Regions from separate parts of the Homo sapiens genome. Here regions 1, 2 and 3 are each linked to region 4. Evidence: promoter capture Hi-C in 16 types of primary human blood cells and fetal thymus (Javierre and others, 2016). All regions are on one chromosome and are shown on one strand. Each heading gives the region's core, a stretch centred on a gene start or on the middle of the fragment in contact. The rest is flanking DNA. Distances are from core to core; before and after follow the strand shown.

What was found. Contacts are between HindIII fragments. The CHiCAGO score rates a contact against its expected background, and 5 or more counts as called.
Region 1: a contact is called between a fragment that was not itself captured here and the fragment with the promoter of SCO1 in region 4, in 1 of 17 cell types (naive CD8 T cells). The highest score is 6.1, in naive CD8 T cells.
Region 2: a contact is called between a fragment that was not itself captured here and the fragment with the promoter of SCO1 in region 4, in 1 of 17 cell types (megakaryocytes). The highest score is 6.1, in megakaryocytes.
Region 3: a contact is called between a fragment that was not itself captured here and the fragment with the promoter of SCO1 in region 4, in 1 of 17 cell types (activated CD4 T cells). The highest score is 5.3, in activated CD4 T cells.

Annotation. Positions count from the first base shown.
Region 1 is chr17:11,990,862-11,996,703 of GRCh38, reverse strand. ZNF18 (zinc finger protein 18) reads left to right here. Exons shown (of 7, transcript NM_001303281.2): 2 at 3,793-4,261; 3 at 5,541-5,730. The coding sequence starts at 3,875. Among named protein-coding and RNA genes, the nearest start is that of ZNF18, 3.7 kb to the left of the region's middle. RefSeq lists an enhancer at 4,759-5,413. The HindIII fragment of the contact is 546 bases long and covers 4,230-4,775 here.
Region 2 is chr17:12,051,447-12,057,039 of GRCh38, reverse strand. It overlaps MAP2K4 (mitogen-activated protein kinase kinase 4), which reads right to left. Exons shown (of 11, transcript NM_003010.4): 2 at 2,049-2,151. Among named protein-coding and RNA genes, the nearest start is that of MIR744, 28 kb to the left of the region's middle. The HindIII fragment of the contact is 964 bases long and covers 3,701-4,664 here.
Region 3 is chr17:12,004,790-12,010,390 of GRCh38, reverse strand. It overlaps a transcript of ZNF18 not described here. Among named protein-coding and RNA genes, the nearest start is that of ZNF18, 10 kb to the right of the region's middle. The HindIII fragment of the contact is 1,877 bases long and covers 345-2,221 here.
Region 4 is chr17:10,694,263-10,699,705 of GRCh38, reverse strand. SCO1 (synthesis of cytochrome C oxidase 1) reads left to right here and starts at 2,173. Exons shown (of 6, transcript NM_004589.4): 1 at 2,173-2,471; 2 at 3,875-3,965. The coding sequence starts at 2,199. ADPRM (ADP-ribose/CDP-alcohol diphosphatase, manganese dependent) reads right to left here and starts at 2,112. Exons shown (of 4, transcript NM_020233.5): 1 at 2,039-2,112. RefSeq lists a silencer at 1,745-2,074 and enhancers at 2,195-2,244, 1,960-2,254, 1,548-2,372, 2,373-3,196. The HindIII fragment of the contact is 16,251 bases long and covers 1-4,453 here.

The sequences.
Region 1 (5,842 bases), core at 3,253-5,752, 1.3 Mb before region 4:
TTGTGTATATTACACCTAGAATGCACTTTTAAAAATTCATTCTATTTGTTAAAGGTTTAATAACAGGTATAACAGACAACCTTATTTTTTTTTCATAACTAATGGGGGCAGTTCCTCATGAGGTTATCGGAATATAAACTCTATTAAATTTTTAATACTATATAAAGTAATTTAATTTTGAATAATCGAGACATTTTTCTTACACACTACCTGGGAGTATAATATTACTAACAAAAGATTTAAGTATTTTATAAAATCTGTAGTTTTTCCAAAATGTCATTTCTCTTAAATATTATCTAAACTGCTATCTTAATTTAGGAAACAGATAAATTGCAGTAAGTTTACAGGTCGGTATCTTGCTATCTAAAATCTTGCCGCTTGTTATTTGAAACTCTTGAGCCAAATAGGTTGGATTTACAAAGCAAGGTATTTTTAAAAATATATTTATTCGTTTTTTAAGATGTTATTTGAAACTGTAGGTTTACCTCTGAGCTAAAGCTGCTTTTCAGGTGGTTTGATAATGCTGTCATTGTCACTCAGTATGAAAACATATTTTAATTTCCTTTGTGATTTTTTTCTTTGACTATGGGTTAAGAGCATTATTTAGTAATTTCCATAAATTGGGATTTTCTAGTTATTGTTATTGATTTCTACTTTAATTGCACTATGATCAGAGAATATATTTGAACCCAGGAAGCTCTAAAGTTTTCCATTTGACCTTTCTGGTTTTGTTTCTCTTGTGTTCCTTTTCTATCAGATATTGGGTTTTTGAGTGTTTTTTGGTATTGCTTTAATGGCTTTTTAGCAATACCACTTTGCGTAATATTTTTAGAGCTAATTTTAAGATATCAGTCATTTGAAAATTATGCATATGGTCTGTTTTGATGAATACTCTTTGCACTTGTAATGAATGTATACTCTGCAGTTCTTGGGTCTAGTGTTCTGAAAATGTCAATTAGAGCAAGTCGGTTGATAGTGTTCAGATTTTTTGACTTCACTGACTCTTTTTTTTTTTTTTTTTGAGATGGAGTCTCCCTCTGTCGCCCAGGCTGGAGTGCAGTGGTACGATCTTGACTCACTGCAACTTCCGCCTCCCAGGTTCAGGCTGTTCTCCTACCTCAGCCTCCTGAGTTGCTGGGATTACAGGTGCGCACCACCATGCCCAGCTAATTTTTGTATTTTTAGTAGAGATGGGGTTTTACTGCGTTGGCCAGGCTGGTCTCAAACTCTTGACCACAGGTGGTCCTCCCGCCTAGGGCTTCCAAAGTGCTGGGATTGCAGGCGTGACCCACCGCGCCTGGCCTGGGTTTCTTTTTTTTTTTCTTGCAGTGGTGTGATCTCGGCTCACTGCAACCTCTGCCCCCTTGGGTTCAAGCAATTCTCCTGCCTCACTCAGCCTCCCTGGTAGCTGGGATTACAGGCATTCACCACCACGCCCGGTTAATTTTTGTATTTTTAGTAGAGATGGGGTTTTGCCATGTTGGACAGGCTGGTCTTGAACTCCTGACCTCAAATGATCCCCCTGCCTTGGACGCCCAGAATGCTAGGATTACAGGCGTGAGCCACTGCGCTCAGACCTGGGTTTCTTTTTAAGCAAAAAATAAATTTAATGAGGACCACATAAAAAACATTTGGTATTGGATTACGGTTGCAAGGGTCCATTTATACAAGGATTTTCATCTGCCTCTGTGACTCCTGCGACTGCAAGACCAACCCTTCCTTCTCCTTCTCCTGTTCCTTGTCCTCTTCAGGCTACTCAGTGTGAAGATGATGAAGGTGACCACCTTTATGGTGATTCACTTCCACTTAGTGAATAGTAAATGTAGTTTCTCTTCCTTATAATTTTCTTTTTCTTTTTTTTTTGAGACGGAGTCTCGCTCTGTCGCCCAGGTTGGAGTGCAGTGGCACGATCTCAGCTCACTGCAAGCTCTGCCTCCCAGGTTCATGCCATTCTCCTGCCTCAGCCTCCCGAGTAGCTGGGATCACAGGCGCCCGCCACCACGCCTGGCTAATTTTTTGTATTTTTAGTAGAGAAGGGGTTTCACCGTGTTAGCCAGGATGGTCTCGATCTCCTGACCTTGTGATCCAGCCACCTCAGCCTCCCAAAGTGCTGGGATTACAGGCGTGAGCCACCTGGCCTGGCCTCTTCCTTATAATTTTCTTAATAATATTTTGTCTAACTTACTTTATCACAAAAATACAGTAACATGCAAAATGTATGTTAATCAACTATTTAAGGCATCAGTCAATAGACTGCTAAGCTTTTGGGGAATCAGAAGTTATATATGGATTTTCTACTGTGTGGGGGGTTGGCGCCCCTATCTCCTGCATTATTCAATGGTCAACTGTAATTCTTTTGACTTCGCTTTTTCCTTTCTCAGGCCCTTGAAAAAAAATTGTTTTTCTTTTTTAGTTTTTAAATGATTTTCCAATGTCGGATAAATTATTTTGGTGAAACGGTAAGGATGAAGACATTGTTTCCTACACCTTAAGAAATAAGCAGCTACAAAAAGCTAGAGTATTGTACTGATCTCTGATTAAGCCAGATCCTCAAGTGATGGGGTATCTTTTTTTAAAAATTGCTGTGATTAGTCTTAGGGAGAAATGATGACCACCAAATTCTTCATAACATTTAAGGATTTACCCAGTAATCCTATATTGTGATTACTTGCAAGAAAGTTAACTAGAAGTAGTGGATGATCCTTTTTAGAATAATATTATTTGCGATTTAATATTTCTCTTTCTACTGTCTTAGTTGTGATCTTCTAAAATTTGATACCATTCACATAAAATAGTGATTATTTATATCAACACCATAGGAGTATTTTCAAGGTAGTTAGTCTTCTCAACCCTCTTTTTTTTTTTTTTTTTTTTTTTTGTGAGACGGAGTCTCTCTCTGTCCCCCAGGCTGGAGTGCAGTGGCGCGATCTTGGCTCACTGCAAGCTCCACCTCCTGGGTTCACCCCATTCTTCTGCCTCAGCCTCCTGAGTAGCTGGGACTACAGGTGCCCGCCACCATGCCCGGCTAATTTTTTGTATTTTTTTTTAGTAGAGACGGGGTTTCACCGTGTTAACCAGGATGGTTTCGATCTCCTGACCACGTGATCCACCTGCCTCGGCCTCCCAAAGTGCTGGGATTACAGGCGTGAGCCACCATGCCCAGCCTTCTCACCCTCTTTAACCCCAAGGTTGAAAGTGTCAGGTATGATACTTGTTTTTTTCATAAATTCTCAAATAGACCTATTTTAATATGGCACTCAAAAGACCTCTCTTGGAAGTTTCATTACACCTTTTTGGTATACTTTTGGAAGTACTTTTGGTACCTTTTGGAAGACTTAACTTGTTCTCTTTAACCTCCTATTTATTACAGAAGCATGTAGGCATTAGCTTTTATTCCTAGGGCATTAATATCTTTTTCCAGCTTTATTTTTTAGTATGCAGATATATAGATGAAGATGTAGAAGTGTTTTGTAGAAGAGCCGTTTACCTGGAAACCTATAGTGAAAAAGTTTCGTATGGTGCATTTTATTCTTCATTTTGTCTGGACATTTGAAGACCAAGAAAGAACATTATAAAATGGGCAGGGAAATGGTGGCTGTTTAGATACAGTATCAGTAGTTTGCTTTGTGGCTTCAAGTTTATAATCTTTCAAAATAGAATCGTGTATCCATTGAGCAATTTCAAAAGCTCCATAGTTGACCCCATGGCTTCTCGGGTAGGGCATGTGAATTTGTTCTTTCTGAAAATGTGTCCCCTTCCTCTGTGTAGCACTCAATCTCATTCCCTTTTTAGTGTCCTGGTGAAGACCTAGTTCTTGCCGGAGACAATTCCACTGCAGAAGCACTTTACTTAAAAGGACTTGCCAGGCTGGACAATGCCCGTTGACTTGGGGCAGGCCCTAGGCCTGCTGCCATCGCTGGCGAAGGCCGAGGACTCCCAGTTCTCAGAATCAGATGCTGCCCTTCAAGAGGAACTCTCCAGCCCTGAGACCGCACGCCAGCTTTTCAGGCAGTTCCGTTACCAGGTGATGTCTGGGCCTCATGAGACCTTGAAGCAACTTCGGAAGCTCTGTTTCCAGTGGCTACAGCCAGAGGTTCACACCAAAGAGCAGATCCTAGAGATCCTCATGTTGGAGCAGTTTCTGACCATCCTGCCTGGGGAGATCCAGATGTGGGTGCGGAAACAGTGTCCAGGAAGTGGAGAAGAGGCAGTGACCCTTGTGGAAAGCTTGAAGGGGGACCCCCAGAGACTGTGGCAATGGGTAAGCAGAGGGTATTATGATCTGCGAGTGAAACACAGGGCTCCTCTCTGGTCCCATCAGGTGTGTTGTCTTTTTTCTGATACCACTTATGACACAAAATGGGTGGGGCTTTTCACACCAATGGCCAATTCTGTGATTCTCTAACACCAGTACAGTGTCCAGCAATTCAGTTCTGAAGCTAACTCTGGAGGTTCAGGGCTCAATCCAAGACTGCTCCTGTTCTCAGATGCCAGTCACAAGTCCCAGGGGCCACCTGTACTTCTGACAAATTGGCTATAAATTCGGAGGTTCCCACAGTCTTCTCTTCAAGTTTGATAATTAGTTAGAATGACTTACAGAACTCAGGGAAGGATTTTACTTCCTGTTACTGACTTACTCTAAAGGATACAACTCATTAACAGCCAGAGAGAAGAGCTGCATAGAGCAAGGTGTGGGGGAAAGAGCGTGGAGCTTCCATGCTTCTCCTGGCGTGCTACGTTACCAGTACCTCCATGAGGTCACCAACCTGGAAGCTTCCTGAACCTCATGGTTTAGGGATTTTTATGGAGGCTTCACTGCTTTGGCACACTTGATACAGTCATTTGCCGTTGGTGATTGAGTATCTCCAGCTGCCCTCCCCTCCTCAGAAGCTGGGTGGAGATACTGAAAGTTCCAACCTTTTAATCTCAAGGTTGGTTCCTCTGGCAACCAGCCCCCATCCTGAAGCTATCTAGGAGCCTAGCATAAACTCAGGTGTGGTTGAGAAGGGCTCCTTATGAATAACAAAGACTCTTCTTTCACCTGTCCCTCAAGAAATTACCAGGGTTTTAGGAGCTCTGCGGGAATGGGAACTGGGGACAAAGACTAAATGTGTATTTCTTATTATACCACAGCTGGGTTCCCCCATACCTCACGTAATTCTAACACTCTCTGACTCTCAACACTCTTTAGCTATTGAGGATTGAGGGTAAAGTCTCCCAGCGCATTCCACCTTTAGACTAGAATGTTTGAGAAGTTATTTAAAAGATGCCTGAGTTTTCATTGGTGGCGCATATCCAGTAGAAGCACGTTAGTGGCATGTCTTGAAGGTCTCCCACGCCTGATTCGGGCCTCAGCTTTTGGTGTCTTTTGGGACGTTTCTTTCCCTGGTTCCTGCTGGACTAGAAATAAAAGCTGGTTTTCTCTTTCTCCACATCCTTAGAAATTGTCTTATGATCTGTTGTAGAGAGTAAGCTTTGTGTCTTTTAGAGATCCTTACTCTGGATTCTTCAGTAATTACTAATTAATATATGGTCTCTAGATCAGTATCCAGGTTCTAGGACAGGACATCTTATCAGAGAAGATGGAATCTCCAAGCTGCCAAGTGGGGGAAGTGGAGCCCCATCTTGAAGTGGTGCCTCAGGAGTTGGGACTTGAGAATTCATCCTCAGGGCCTGGGGAGCTTCTGAGCCACATCGTGAAAGAGGAATCTGACACAGAAGCAGAACTAGGTGAGGATGGTGCTGTGTGGTGTTCTCTTGGAGAGATTTTGGGATTGTGATTAGTAGGCCTAAGTGAGTTGAAATGGTATGCTGCTCAGATTGGCGTATCCCTGAGAGGTTT
Region 2 (5,593 bases), core at 2,933-5,432, 1.4 Mb before region 4:
AACCAGATCCTGTGACATATCTTAACTTCATTAGCTTGCTTATTTCATCTTATCTTTTCCTAAATTCATGAACAAGTTTTATATTCACATCTGTAATTATTAAAGTTCAAGGAAATTTTAGGAGAAAAAACATATAAATGTTAAGAGATATCTTATTTCAAAACTCCCACAAACTACAAGTTATGTTTTTCTAATTGCAAGTACTCATCCTAAACAGAAACTAACAACTGTTTTTAGTGCTTGATGGCAAACAACTCAGAGGAAGAGTACAAAAGGATACCTTTTGGAAGGGGCTGGGAAGGTAGAGGAGATAATGTTGTTCTAAGTAATAAAACAGTTATCTCTGACCAGTAACAATGCTAGTAGTTACCTATTCCTAACCCAGAACAATTGACCTGTACAATAAAAAACTTACAACAAAGTCTGGGTCTAAAATTTTTACATACCAGAATCAAGCTCTAAAGATTCTATCATAAGGTAAAACTACCTATTACCATGTCCTTTCAAATTTTAAATACTTGCTGGGAAGAAACAAAGGATGAGAAATCTAGCTGGCTATAGGTTTATTATAAAACATTAGTTAAGAACAAAACAAAAAATAAAACCTGAACTCAACTTTGGAAGAAAGTTTTTTTCCACCCTGTGTTTACTATTTTTTAAAAAATTTTGCTCCATGAATTCCACATACATAAAGAAACTCCAGAGGGAAGACAGTACAAATAGATGAATGTTTTTCCAGTTTTAATTTAAGTCAGGTTGTCTTTCTCCTTGTCCAAAAAGGCTTTTAAAAAAGAAAGATCTGATAAGTTTGGTGATTACTGCTATATCCTTTCCTTCTTAGACTTCCAACATATGGTTCAGCTAGTAACTAAGGTAACAGAAGGGGGCTATGTTAAAGAATTAGTTTTGCACTAGCTTTCACTACAAATTCTAAGAAATAAGGAAGGAGGTTCTTTTAAGAATTGTTTCCTTGCTGCTGAAATTCTGACTAATTAATAAGTACTAAGTTTCCTTCCTCAAGATAGCCCCTACTTGATGTTTCAGAGAAGGTAAAAAGAGTGGGACTCTAGGCTGAGCTCTGACAAGAAGTGTGATTATGAACACCAGTCTAATAAAATTAATAGACAATTGAGAAAAATAAATTGTTACTACACTTTTTATTTAAAATATCTTTCATTCCCTCTAAGGCTACAAGTGAAACTACTCCCTTCTAGACATTGCTGTTTTAAAAATATTTTAAGCATCTCTTTTGCAAGACACTACCTTCTACCAATTTGTTACTGTTTGTAAATACAATGCATACCAAATTCTGAAAGAAGAGAAAATAGCAATAAAAGTGCCTCTTTGGGAAGAATAAATGTATTTTAAGCCTAATAAGATCTAGATGCAAATTGTTGAGAAATTACTTAAAAAAAAATGTATCTGCCAGCTTTTTAATCATACCTTACACCACTTGCTTTATAGTTCTCAACATCGAAACTAGCTCAAAATTATTTTTATGGACATGGTTATAAAAGTACAGCCACTGGCCTTCATTTTCATGATAGGTTAGGATGGGAAATAAGAAGAGGTTTTTTAATATTTCACATCACTTAAATTCAATTGAAGGTTAATGTAAAATATTGTTCTGAAGGTATTGCTTTATGTTAACTAAGATGCTCTAATATTTTCACTAAGATGCTACAATATCATTTCTATTGTTTAAAAATTCAGTAAATGAAATAACCACTGATATGTGTACACTCACATGTACACAACTCTTTCAATTTACTATGACATAGAAATCTTGCAGGAATCTAGCTTATTAAGATGGGACTCTATTTTGTCACTAAGTGGTGAAAATTTGTACAGTTGGACAGAAGACAGTCAAATTTCCTAAATGCAACTTGCAATTTAACTGGAACTCCAGAAGGAAAAGAATAAACAATATTCCCAGAGAGTTTAGTCAGAGAAATTATACTGACATCTCATAATTGGAAAAATTCATAAAATACAGTAACTTTAAAATCTTTGCTTGAGTTGAGCCTTTGATTACCAAGAATACTCACATGTGTGGGTTTTGAACTCCTGTAGGATTGGGATTCAGAGTAAACCTTGCTGTAGATTTGAAAGGTGGATTTGCAAAATTCAACTTCAGTGCTTTGCGTTTACCTGAGAAATAACAAATAAAAAGTAAAAGTTTCAAGTACTACAAAACAGGTACTATTCTGAGGGCATAAGAAAGTCACACCAAAAGGCAAGAGAACTTGCTTTAACAAACAGTTAATATAGGACAATATTTTGAAAGGCAATGAGGAATTTCTTAAACTAAGAAAAAATAAAATAATCTAAAGTTGTTACTAACTACAAATCATTCACTAGGCTATGATACAATAGATAGAATGCTATCACTTCAAGTTTCCATTATTCAGGGAAGTTAATACTTTTGCAAGTGAAAATACTATTATAAAAATCAATTATCTCAGTAGATATACTGAAAAATTCTAAAAATATTACCATCTGTTCAGTGTTATACTTAATGCCCTCAGTTTAATAAATATCGTTTTCCCTCATTTTAATGAATATAAACAACAGAGTGAAGAATCTGAAAAATTTGCTAAAAACATTACGGTAGAGTAAACTTCAAGTTAGTAATACAAGTATTCTAAATAATTATTTCCATGAAGCTGTTTCTTTAGGGTAGGAAGGGAAGAGATACCAATGTTTTTTATTACCCAAGTAAAACCACCATGGTAGAAGGGCAGAAAATGCAAAAAAAGATCAAATATATTAAAAATGTTACATATACACCTATACAATACATAGGGTTAAAATTTTACATAAACTTATCAATCCAAGTATCTCAAAATAATCAGTTTACTAACTACTGCAGACTTTTTTCTATACATAGATAGGGACATGTATTTTTTCACTACAATTGAAATCAGACCATGAAAATGCTTTGTAAAATGCTTTATTCACTAACATTTCTTTCTATATCAATAAGTCTTACAGAATCATTTCTTTAGGACTTAAAAGGATACCTTGTAACAGAACTGAATTTTTTAAGCATTTGCAGCATATCTTGGTTTCACATTCACCTTAGAGACACTTTTTCCTGAACTCACTCTCTAGAGTTTATTATACAATTAACTACTCAAAAAATATCTCTGCAATCCAAACACTTTCTGACCTCAGTGGATGAGGATTTAATAGAGGGTTCAAACTGTAAATGTGAGATCTGAAAATCTGACGGAGCCACACTGGATGGAGAAGATGGCAAAGAGACAAGAGCACAGAGCTCCTTGCCACGGCCCCTAGATCTGCTTTCAAAGATAAGCCTCCTTTCTACCAGATCATGTGAATTCCCACGAAGACCAAACACATCCATTTTCAGAAATAAGGTTAGTACAGTATGACTTTTCCACATAATGTAGAGGAAGGACATTCAAACAACATGTGCAAAGGGTACACTAGGAAACATAGCAGATATGACTGTATTTAAAAAAAAAACAAAAACCCTCAGTATATTACCAAAAAACAAAACTAAAAAAAAATTGAACCTTGGGAAAACTCTTGCAATACAAAAATCAGTAGCTCTAAATATATAAAGACATCATAGAAATCAAGAAAAATAGAAAAAAAGTGATAAGAATATGAGCAGTAAAGACAAATCAAGGGAAAATATAAAAAGACACTAACACCAAAAACATTTTAAGCTTTTGTTCATATGAAAATGGCAAAGTTTGAAGGTTTTATATTATATATACATAATGATAACATGATGATCAGAATGGCTAGGTAGAAGAATCACTAATAAGATATATTGCTGGTAGAAAAACTTTCTGTGAGAGGTTCAGCAATATACAAAAAAAAAGGTTTTTTTAGTAAATATGCTCTTTTACTTCTTGAGAATTTTTCTTTAGAAAATATTTAAAGATAGAGGATTACTCCCGGGTCTTGAAACCAAATGGAATTTGCCCTGGATAATACTCAGAGTTTTACCCATGCCTGATTTAAATGATTTTCATAATGGGATTTGGGATTTTTGAGCTGGTAATATTTAGGTGAGATTTACATTTGAGTTAATACTGTAATGAGTCAAAATTTTGGAGACGCTGGGGTAGGGTAAATGTATTTTGCACATGGGAAGGATATGAATATTTGGGGCCCAGAAAACAGACTGTAATGGGCTGAATGGTGGTCCCCAAAGATACTAAGCTCCTAATCTCTGGAACTTGAACCTATTAATTACCTTAATATGGCAAATCGTTTACAGAAAAAATTAAGTTAAGGAACTTTGCTATCACAATTTGAAGAAAATCTTTACAAACTCCTCAAATCAAAAACTGAGCATATGTCATGTAGTCTGTGTTTGAAACCATCTGGCACATCATCCATTACCTCCGTGTGAAGAAAAATTAATATAAGACTAAGATAAAATGCAAGACAAGGACAGAACAAAGAACTATTGTGAAAACTATCCAAAGAAAAACAAAAATTGGTCCTTTCTTAGAAAGCCCAATTTGACGGAATAGTAGCTAACCTTACCAGATAAACAATAAAATATATTACAACAGTTAAAACTTAAACTGTTTTCTTGAATATAAGTATTTATACTGAATACACAGAGAGATTTTTTTCAGCATTGCATTCACATTTAAATAAAAACTAAATTGAAAGCTTTAAAGGCCATTAACTTCATAAACGTACACCATGATGAAGAGAATGTGATTTAAGTTACATAAATTAGATTTAAACACAGTCTACACTTCAGAGACATCTGCAATTATCTTGAAAAAGTCCAAATTTATATTCTGATCATTTACTAACAAAACACACTAAGTAATTCTGTAGGTTTCGAAGCCTTTCCAAGCAAAGATCACTCAAAGCCTAAAACAAGTGCCAACGAGCTTAGCACATGATCAAGTTACCTTGCTGGGTCTCATCTGTGTACCCCAACTCTTCAAATGCTGATCAGTTTAAGATGAACTTGAAAGGCAGTTTTGAGGAGGAAAAGGAAGGCCCCAAAATGTCAACCGAAGGTGAGATTCAAGAAAAGTAGAAAAATAGCTTTTACAATACTCAGGAGAAGCTGTTTCTGGCTACCTGGAGGCATGAGCTTTTTTTTTTTTAAAAAAAGGCATCTTCTCCTCTCCCATTCACTTTCTCTAAGTACTAGAGCCTCTACTGGGGCTGGGTCCTTCTCTCCTTTACTTCTTTTTCAAGGGTCCCTCAAAAAAATCAAAACCGAAAGGCAATCTGTCACCATGTATTCAGATATTTTTAATGACAAAAAATTACAAGCAAATAGGACATTAATATGAATTTTTTTCAAAAACTTGAAACAACTTTCACAGGGAGAAAGGAGGGACGTGATACTATAAATGACCTGTGAAGATTTTTAGATGCTAACAAAGATTGAAATATTTGTACAACAGGGTTTAAAATAACTGATCAAAAACATTATGAATTTGTGATTATAATAACCCCTTTGGTGGGACTGTCATATCATCAATTTCTAACCAGTCAACACAGATAAACATTGTCCCTTTAACTATAGCAGGAGAGAAACGAGGCATCAAACATCCTAAAATATTTATACAGAAGCGGT
Region 3 (5,601 bases), core at 34-2,533, 1.3 Mb before region 4:
TTAAAGAAAAGCAGTCTGTTCTTGTAAATACATTCTATTTTACTTACACAAAACTTTTCCTTTTTTCTCTTTAAGTCACCAGAAAATAAATGTACTGAGTTTCTATTCTTGGCTCAGATTCAACTAGAATAGCGAAGAATTACAAGATATATAAATGAAAAATCCTGTTCATTTAGTAAACATTTCATACTATATTTATACAGTGAAATTCATTGATAGTACTTTTTTTTTTTACTTATAAGTTTTTATTGGTTCTAATTAAGCCTGAGAATAAAGTCTTGTGAAACTGTCCTCTCCATTACTGTCTATTCTAATCTATTCTCGACAGGCACCACAATAAAGCTTTCACCCCTGTTTTGGTCTGTTATATCCAAGCCACATGTGCAGTCAAGGAAAAGGTGATGTTCCTGTAGTCTTTTCTAAACTACCATCTGCTAATATTACATAGATAAGCCATATTTTAGGCACTTTTTTCTACCATCTCACAAATCTGTATGTTGGAATTCTAGGAATATATGTTAATAGATCATTTGGTGTATTTTAAGTGGTTTTTCAAGAAGCAAAGTTAGGGTATTTGTTGTTTCTTTTACGTCTCACGCAGGCAGGAGCAAGGAGGGATGATTTAAAAGCTCAGGAATGGCCAGGCGCGGTGGCTCACGCCTGTAATTCCAGCACTTTGGGAGGCTGAGGCGGGTGGATCACTTAAGGTCAGGGGTTCGACACCAGCCTGGCCAACGTGGTGAAACCTTGTCTCTACCAAGAATACAAAAATTAGCCGAGCATGGTGACGGGCGCCTGTAATCCCAGCTACTTGAGAGGCTGAGGCAGGAGAATTGCTTGAATCTGGGAGGCGGAGGTTGCAATGAGCCAAGATCATGCCACTGCGCTCCAGCCTGGGTGACAGAGCAAGACTCTGTCTCGAAAAAAGAAAAAGAAAAAAAAAAAAAAAGCTCGGGAATGTATGGCACAGAGATGGGTGGAAATTGATCATGGAGGACCATAGGACCCTGTTTTCTAGAGGTCCAAATGATACAATTTGGAATAAAAGAACGTCTCTGCCTTGAACCCAAGGCTGTCCTCCTGGAACCCTGAGTGGAGCAGGCAGTTCTAGAAGCAGCCATGTAGGGATAAAAGGATGGCAAAAAAAAAAAATTGTCTACACCAACCCATGTCTCCTCGAATATATCTGTTTTCAGGTATGTGAAGGAAAGCTAAGATAATTCAGTGGATTCTTCACTGGGAAAAAGGCCAGATTCCAGTTTATAAGTGAGTATAACCCTGAAGACTTGCCTCCTTCTCCTAGACAGGGCTTGAGATTTGAGTTCCTTTCTTCCCTTCATTTCCTCCAGTGAACACTGGCTGATATCTGTATAGCCTGTGCCCGTAAGTCAGGAATTTGCCAGGGTGTCACAATTGTAAATGCTATGCTCCGAATTTTGGACCATGGTATCTAAATTTTGGTTTTTGGGATATAGTTACAGTAGACCTAGACTAAATTCTTATCTGTTGACCTTGACCAAATTCCTTCCTATTTCTCTTTTGGGAGTTCCCTGAATAATAAGGATCTTGTGGGGAACAACAGTTCCTAGTGGCCTACCATCTGGTGGAGGCCACAGACTGATTAAGTAAGTATCAAGTGAACTGTGGGATAAGGGATTTGGCAAGGGCAGTGCCCTGCCCAATCTTCAGTAGTCAGCTTCTAGGCCCTCTGACCAGCAAAGTCTTCAGACATCCCCAGCAGGCTCTACAGCTCAGACTCTGAGGGGAGCATCATTAACCTTGACTCCTCTGCCTTCTGGAGAATATTTGAGCGCAAACTTGCTCAAATACCTTCAGGGTCCAGATGGTACTGTAAGTATGTTAAAGGAACATGATCTAAAGGGATGGTCAAAGCTGGGCATGGTGGCTTGAGCCTGTAGTCCTAGCTACTTGACAGGCTGAGGCGTGAGGATCCCTTGAGCCCAAGAATTCAAGCCTAGCCTGGGCAACGTAGCTAGACCCCCATCTCTGAATAATAATAATAATAGTAGTAATAATGGGATGGTCAGACTTATGACTCACTGCAAATTGCATGCACCACTAAAAGGCATTCCAGTTCAAGTAAATTTTTAAAACTGTGCTTGCCAAAGAAAATACATGCTGCCAGTTTCCAACTTCTGGTTGGAAGGGTCCACATCAATCTCAGAGAAGAGAACTGATCTTGGATAGAACCCTGTAAGCTTAAATGAATGCATTCCTTGCTTAATTCCGGGTAACCAGCCTCTTCCAAGATGGGGTTTCTGTTTGGTGCCTTGGCTACATGCTGCTGCTTCTTCGTATCTCCACGGGCAACCCGAGGCACTCTGCAGTGGCCCTCCTCAAGACTCTACAGCAGACCACTGCTGCTGATTAACTTTATTTTCTTTCCGTTCTCTGAGCACCACCACATTATGGATTTTTTTTCAACCCTGGTGTCTGGTTAATTCCAATCATCTTCTCTCTCTGTGTTCCCCAGTGTTCAGACCCTTTGTGCTAATTAGCAGTGACAGACGTGTCACCAATCTTGCTGTTTCTCCAGGGGAAGAAAAAGCTTGCTTTTTAAAATTGATCTGTGAGACCTTCAGGAGCCACCACATGCTCCTGGAAGCTTCTGTTAGAAGGAGAAAGGTTCAGTCTGAAAAACCAAATGCAGAGAAAATCTCAACGTGGGCAGGCGTCTAGCCATCCCCAGCAGCAGGTAGCAGGGACAGATGGGGCTTCCCACTGCTCAGTGCTGATGGGATTTTCAGGAGTCCTGGCTTTCAAGGTGAGATAGATGTCACAGACCCAGCAAGGGCAAAGTCTGACTGCCCAAAGTCAGCAGGGCCATCAGTCCAGCAAGGAGTCAGGCACCTGAATGTGAAGGAGGCCACGGGCAGCATCAAGTGACCGTACAAAAATCAGAATTCAGCTAACAAGGGGTCAAAGTGAGACATTTAGGAGGACCGAAGAAGAATTCTGGGTGGTGGAAGGTTTAAAGGGACATGGGGCCTCTTCCACAATCGCTCTAAGATTGTCACCTGTGTAGAACTCCCTAAGTTTTAAAGGATCCCTGGCTAATGAGATAAAGAAGCCTAAAGACTTCAGAAGCTTCCCAAATCTGCATCTGAAGGCTGCAGCTCTTTTTCTGGCAGGAACTGAAGCTCAAAAGGGAGATCAACATAGAGTCTTCACTGGGAGATGATGTCTCAGCATTTGGTGGTGAAGCTCTGTGACTGAAGCCCTGACCTCCTTCTTGGTAGAGGAGGCCAGAATCTTGACATCTTACCAGAACAGAGATTAAGCTCAGAGGCACATGCAGGACTCTAAAAAGACAGAAACAAAACAAAACAAAATAAAATAAAACAGTAAACATTGGCCTAACACACAAAACTACATTAATGGTAGTTAGCTATCTCTATGAGGCCACAGTCACAGAATTCCTTTGGGTTTTAATTTTTAGGTAAAAATATGATATTTATTACAGTATTACAGAATGTCTTACAATTTACATAATTAAATTCATTTAGTTGAGACTTTTATCATGTTTCTGATCATTACAGCTTTTTTCTTTCTTCTGGGATATCTGGATACTGTTGAAATACTGTGGCAAAAAAAACAGTATGGTAATATTTTTGCTCAGTTCTTTTTTTTGAGCTTCGGCACCTAGGTTGGAGTGTGGTGGTGAGATCATGGCTCACTGTAACCTCAACCTCCAAGGCTTAAGTGACCCTCCCACCTCAGCCTCCCAAGTAGCAGGGTCCACAGGTGTGCACCACCATGCCCTGGTAATAATTTATGCTCAGTACAAATAATTTTTTATTACTATTCTTTCTAGGAATCACCTATCCTAAAACACGTGATACATACAAATTACGATATCTCAATAACAGCTAGATTTTGCTGTGTGCCAAGGCACTGTTCTAGGTATTTTACATATATTGTCTCATTTAATTCTCTTAACAGTCCTAAGCATTAGGTGGCATTTTTATCTCTCATTTTACTAATGGGAGAATTGAGATGCATAAAGATGGCTGTAATATATTATTATATTGGGGATATTTATGTTAGGAGTTCCTGGATAAAAACCAGCCCAGAAACCTAGTTCTGTTTTAACTTCTTCCAAAGGCCTCCTGATTGCCAGTTAATTGTATTACTCCCTGTATTATTATCCTTCTTGCCCACATAAGTTTTGGCAACTAACATCTGTTTGTGTCCTGAAGTTTGAATTAATAGACAATTATTTATGAACATGGATTTGAATGCCACTCACAGATCAGTGCCAAAAGCATCACTTTGGAAGTTGTTAAAAAATCATACTTCCAGGCTCTACCTCTCAGATAATCTGATTCAGGAAAGAAGTCAAAATAATGTGGAATTAACATGCCCTCCATGTGAGTCTGATCTGCAGCCCAGTTTAAGAAGCTCCCAGATCTAGAACAGGGAGATCTACACTTTTTTGATCAATCATTCTTTTCTAGTAAAAGTATTTTGAGACTATGTAGCCACTGTTTGTATATGTATTTATTCATAAATAATATATACAGGTATTATTTTGCCTACATGTTGTACATTATAAAACATATTCAAAATTGAAAGTTAAAAAGTCTATGGTAAAAATGGAAAAATAATATTTTAAAATATGTATCTTATTTATTGAATAAAGTTCTCACCAGAAATATAATACACCTCATTATTTGAGCAAATCTTTAATACTCTGTGATACAGGAGTTTTAAAGTCGGGTTCTAAATTCAGTTTATTTTTGACACTTAGTTATAATGGTTGTCAAAAGTGAAAAAAGAAACCTCCCCAAACCTCCAAATGGATAAAGTACATCATTGGCAGCAGATACTAAGAATGATATTTGTTTTTCAATGCCATCTGGTAATTAAGCAAAAAATTTTGATGAAATGTGGCTACTAATTTCCATAGTCACTGATGTGAGTCAGTAGCTCTTGCAAACTAATTGGAAGAGACATTACATTTTCATAATTTTTACCGATGGGCTTAAAATGAAAAGCACAAAACTTTTTATACGGAATATTTTGTGTATTGATTTTCATGTATGAGAACCTCAAAAGAGGCCACCAGTTTCCATTTGATTTAATGAAGTTTCATAAAGTACTTGATAGAATATGACTTTAAACTTTGTTGAATTTCCTTCATGTTCTATATATATAATATATATGCATATATTAGTATCTGTGTATATGTATTATCTGTATATATAATCTGTATATATATAACTTCTGAGTCCATAACATGCATAAATATATATACATCACACATACATGCATATATATTTATATATACTTATATAAAGGTACAAATATATACACACGTATTTAAACTTAGTGTGTGTATAAATATATATTTAAACATTTAAAATCTAATTTACAAACTCAGTGTAAATATACACATAAATATACATCTTGTTAAGGTGCCATTCAGTATAGTGATAGAGATATAAATGCACATTTCTTTTCTTTTTTTTTTTTTTTTTTTGAGATGGAGTTTCACTCCTGTTGCCCAGGCTGGAGTGCAATGGCATGATCTTGGCTCACTGCAACCTCTGTCTCCTGGGTTCAAGCTATTCTCCTGCC
Region 4 (5,443 bases), core at 924-3,423:
ATATATTTTTTAAATTAGACAGGCCTGGTGGCACGCACCTCTAGTCCCAGCTACACGGGAGGATGAGGCAAGAGAATCGCTTGAACCCAGGAGGCGGAGGTTGCAGTGAGCTGAGATCGCACCACTGCACACTCCAGCTTGGGCGACAGAGGGAGACTTTGTCTCAAAAAAAAAAAAAAAAAAAAAAGAAAGAAAAGAAAAATATCTAACTTGGAAAACAAAACATAAACCTCATTTGGTGACTTTGGTGGTTTCACAGCAGTAATAAAAGTGATAAGGTCTATAAGGGATAACACTGTAGGCGCCTTCTGGCACTAAAGTTTCATGGGTCCTTGCCATCAGGCTCAGGTGTTACTAGCAATTCATCCAAAATGCAGTTATAAAACACCTACTTTGAGCCAGGAACTATATTTTATATTTATTTTATTTATTTTTTAGAGGCAGAGTCTTGCTTTGTTGCCCAGACTGGAAGGCAGTGGCCCGATCACAGCTCACTGCAGCTTCAAACTCCTAGGCTCCAGTGACCCACTCACCTCAGCCTCCCAAAGTGATGGGATTACAGGCGTGAGCCACCACATCTGGCCCCAAGAACTGTTTTCAATGATAGCATTTTATTTAATATTATAAAATTAATATGAAGAAGTTGCTACTAAAAGAAGCACTTTAGCAAATAAAATTTAATAGATCAGGTAGAAACACTGACTTCAATCTTAATTTGGGTGGCTGATCAGGTAACCTACAATTGGGCAATCAGAGATGAACAATAATTTTGTATGCTATCTGCCTGACTACACAAGGTACTTTTATGTCTTTTTGTCAATTACAAGAAAAAATTATCCCTGGGCAAACAAATACACAAAGATAAAAGAGCAAAAATCCTACCCACAGGCAACTATAAGATAGAAAAAAATAGTTTGATTAACGACTTGAAGTGCTGAACAAACATTTAAGAACTTTGGCAGAAATTTCTGAAAATTCTAGTCCAACCGCGAATCAAGAAACACAGGTAACACTATGTTCCGTTACTGGGTTAGAGAACAGAACAGTTGGCTAGTTTGGCTAACTCATAGAAAACAAGCAAACCAACCATGCTCTGGTCCAACAATCATCAGAGCACGAGTTTCTCCTACTCAGAGTCGGTCCCATGGGGGAAAAAAAAGCCACACAGGAGCGGGATCTGTAGTTAAGGAAGATAATTAGAGGACGATTTTCCTTTTTTTATTTCTCTGTATTTTGTAAAGCAACCACCGAGGTAGGGGCGGGGAGGGAGTGGTTAATATTGCGGATATTAAGATATAAATAAAGGCAGATGAAATGAAGTTAGACTTTCACAAAGAACGAAAAACCTACGAATGCTCTTGGCCTCATTAACAAGGAACATAAGCAGTTCCAGATGAGGAACCCATAACAAACTTCAAATAACGAAACTGTAGGGAGCAAGGGAGTCCGTGAGAGTATTTTAAGAAACTGGGACCCAGGAAGACTAAGTTAACGGATGGGATATCATGCTGTCTATATTTCTTTACACACTGCTATGCTTTATTAATTAGGTTACATTATAATGTTAAATAACTAGAAGCGCTGGGCATTTAAAGTTCTTCCAGACCGCCCTAACCACTCAAATTATCCTAATTAGCAATTTTTTTTAAGTTAAAGACTATTTCAATCGCAATGGGTCGGTTTCTATTTCAAAGATGTAAAGGAGTCAACATTCTGGCACTTCCTCTTGGCCGGCAGGACGAGGTTGACAAAGTCGGCCAGACAAGGTAGGGTTATGGGGGCTGCCCAGTCCCGTGGGTCTCTAGGCAGTGTGTTCTCTCTTCCGAGGTGGGGGTGTCCCCGGCGCGAGGAGCTAGCTGTGGTCACCGAAGCCCACGACCAAAGCGGGGGCCCCCAGCGCTTGGGGCCGCCTTGCCTCGGCCCAGCCGCGCACCTGGACCCCTAAGGCAGCCCCCTTCCCGGCGCTCCGCTGTCCCGCGGCCCCGCAGCACCGCCCAGCCCGCGCCAGACCCGCCTCCAGCCGCAGGGAACTACCTACCGTGCGCCGGCCCCTGGGCTGAAAGGCCTCTGACTACGGGCTATGTAACAGCGCCACCAACGAGCGGGACGGACAGAGCGACTCCTTCCGACTTCCGGAGGAAGCGGAACGCTACCGGAAATCGCGGGGAGGGTCAAAGGAGACCCGGTCTCCGAGGCTCATGGCGATGCTGGTCCTAGTACCCGGACGAGTTATGCGGCCTCTGGGTGGCCAACTTTGGCGCTTCTTGCCTCGCGGACTCGAGTTTTGGGGCCCAGCCGAGGGGACTGCGAGAGTCTTGCTGAGGCAGTTCTGCGCGCGGCAAGCGGAGGCGTGGCGTGCCTCGGGGCGCCCTGGCTATTGCCTGGGAACCCGGCCCCTCAGCACTGCGAGGCCGCCACCCCCGTGGTCGCAGAAGGGCCCCGGAGACTCCACGCGCCCCTCGAAGCCCGGGGTGAGTGCACACCTGGAACCCTTCTGGTGCTCGTCGCGGCTGTCGGCCAGCCCAGCGGCCACATCCCACTTGGTCGTAACCTCAGACACTACTCCGCCTCCCCTAAAGTTGTCCTTAGCTTGCGCGCCTTACCTGGGTCATGGAATTTCATCCTACATTTCCCGTGCCTTGCGGGTAGTCCCAGTTCTCCACAGAGAACTTGAGACTTTACACCCTCTCCACGTGGCTGGATGCCCCGACTTGGATTTTATGTTAGCGTTTCCATCAAAAAAAAAAAAAAAATTAAGTTTCAGGTTTTCTTAAGGGTATGAACCTAAAGTTTACCGTGATTGAGAAGTCAGAGGACTTTTATAATTTGTCACTTGAGCCCCATCCAGAGTTCCATGTATACGTTGAAATTGAAACAAAAAGTGGAACTTAGTTATGTGTGGATCTGCCTTTTTCTTGGGGTTCTCTCGAGTTCTAATTCTGACCCAGAAATAACTTGAGAGCCACTACCCTGTGGTAAGAGAAGTGGGTTTTTGGAGCTACGGGAAGGTTAATGAGTTAGGCCTAGTCTAGTTGGCCAACATCATCTTCATTTGGGGAGTTGAATAAGGGTACAAAGAAATAATGGGTGTAATTTGCAAGAAGCTCCACTTTTAGATTCCTCTTCTACTTTGGCATTGTTACTTCTGGAAGCCAGAGTTAAGTTAACCTCCCAAATTTCGTTTGGTCTATTTATCTCAGTATCAGCATAAGCAGATAATTGTTTTTTGTGTGTGTGTTTTTGGATTTTGGTTTTTGTTTTGAGACGGAGTTTTGCTCTTTTGCCCAGGCTGGAGTGCAGTGGCCCTATCTCGGCCCACTGCAACGTCCGCCTCCCGGGTTCAAGCGATTCTCCTGCCTCAGCCTCCCGTGTAGCTGGGTTTAGAGGGGTCCGCTACCACGCCCGGCTAATTTTTGTATTTTCAGTGGAGATGGGGTTTCACCATGTTGGCCATGCTGGTCTCAAACTCCCGACCTCAGGTGATCCACCCGCCTCCGCCTCCCAAAGTGCTGGGATTACAGGCGTGACCCACCGCGCCCGGCCATAATTGGTTTTAAAGTCATTACTGGAGCTAGGGTCACACATAGTAACAATCGTGGTACTTGAGCTTTTTTTTTTTTTTTTTTTTTTTTTTATTTACATGAAGAGAACTGACTTAGGGAACTTTCCCCTGGAGATGAATGCCTTTGTAGTTCAGATCCCAGACCTAACTGCATCCACAGAAACTTTGAGCATTTTCTCATCCCTGAAACATTTTGCACATTTAACATCATGGCCTGTGTGTATGTATATTAAAAACTACTTTAATAAGTTTGTATGGTTAAATGTTTGCATCTTACTAGAATTTTTATGTTTGAAATCCCTGCCCCAGTAGCCTGTTTCCTGGAAGTCTTTAGCAATCACATTTGCTATTGGAGGAGCTTTACTGGCTGGAATGAAGCACGTCAAGAAAGAAAAGGCAGAGAGTAAGTAGATTATCATCTGCTCAGCCCTGTATAAAGGTCTTCCTGGCTATGGACTAGCACCTTTTTTGTTGTTTTTTAGCTTTTTGTTTTGAAACAACTTTAGATTTACCAAAAAATTGCAAAGATAGCATAGGTTCTACATACCTTTCACCCAGCTTCCCCTAATATTAACATCTTGTATAACCATGACACATTTTTCATGACTAAGAAATTTTAAATGGCACACAACTATTAAATTACAGATTGTATTTGGATTTCACTTGTTTTTCTATCAATGTCTTTTATTTGTTCCAGGATCCAAGCTAGGATACCACTGCATAACAATGTTAAAAGATATACTGTGGATAGATTTGACTGGGCAAGATGAAATCTGGAGGGTACGAAGATGAGTAAGATGTAGTCGAGCCTTTGAGGTGCACACGGAAGGGAAACAGACACAGAAGTAAAGTATTTTACTAGATGCGATTCTGCCAGGCCAGAAGGAAGCTTACCATGTTGTGAGAGCAAAAGCAAGTCCCAGCCTTGAGATTTGAGAAGGCTTCCTAGAGATCAGGCAAGGAGCATAGTGCGAGTAGATACTGCATGCCCTCTGTGGATGAGGGGGAGGTGAAAAGAGCCTGGTCAGGAAATGCCAGGAACTGCTCTGGATTAGCATCTTGAAATATTTAGAAATTATTTATAAGAACTTTGCATTTTAGTGAATATCCTAGGACTTTTAAGATTTGGTTTAGAGGTTTTAGGTAAATCTTTAAAGTATTGCTTAAATCTTTCCATTCTTTGGAGTCTCTTTTGATAACATTATATACAAAGGTTAATGATTAAATCTGGGAATTCATAGGCTTTAGGAACTTAGCAGTGTTAAGTTTTGTACTGACATACATATATATGAGACTCTTTGGCATAATAAGTAGTATTGGGTAAGATTTTCATAGTCTAATAAGCAGTAAGTTTCTTTAGTTTCACAAAGAAACAAAAGCTAGGAAAGTTGTGGCGGGAAAATTCTAGAATATGGAAGCTTTTTTTGACTTTAGTTTGGAATTTCAAGTGCAATTCTAACGTTTGTTTTATTTAAAAAATGTATTATTAAATAATCTGAAAAGTCTTCCTAAATAATTTGAGAGTATTTATTTGCTGACATGTTGCGTCATTAGCTCCAAACACTTTTTGGTGTATTTCCTACAAACAAGGACCTTTTCTAGCATAACCACAATACAACCATCAAAATTAGAAAATTGACGCTGATAATTTTGCTGCTGTTCAGTGTTCAGATAATCTTCAGGGTATTGTTTATTTGTTTGTTTTTTGAGACAGAGTTTCACTCCTGTTGCCCAGGCTGGATTACAGTTCAGTCTTCCAAGTTTTGCCACTTGATGTCTTTCAGAGCAAAAGGATCTGTTTCAGAACCATACCACCTTGTATCTAGTTGTTTACCTTAGCCTCCTTCATCTGTAACAGTTTCCCAGGCTTTAACTGACTCC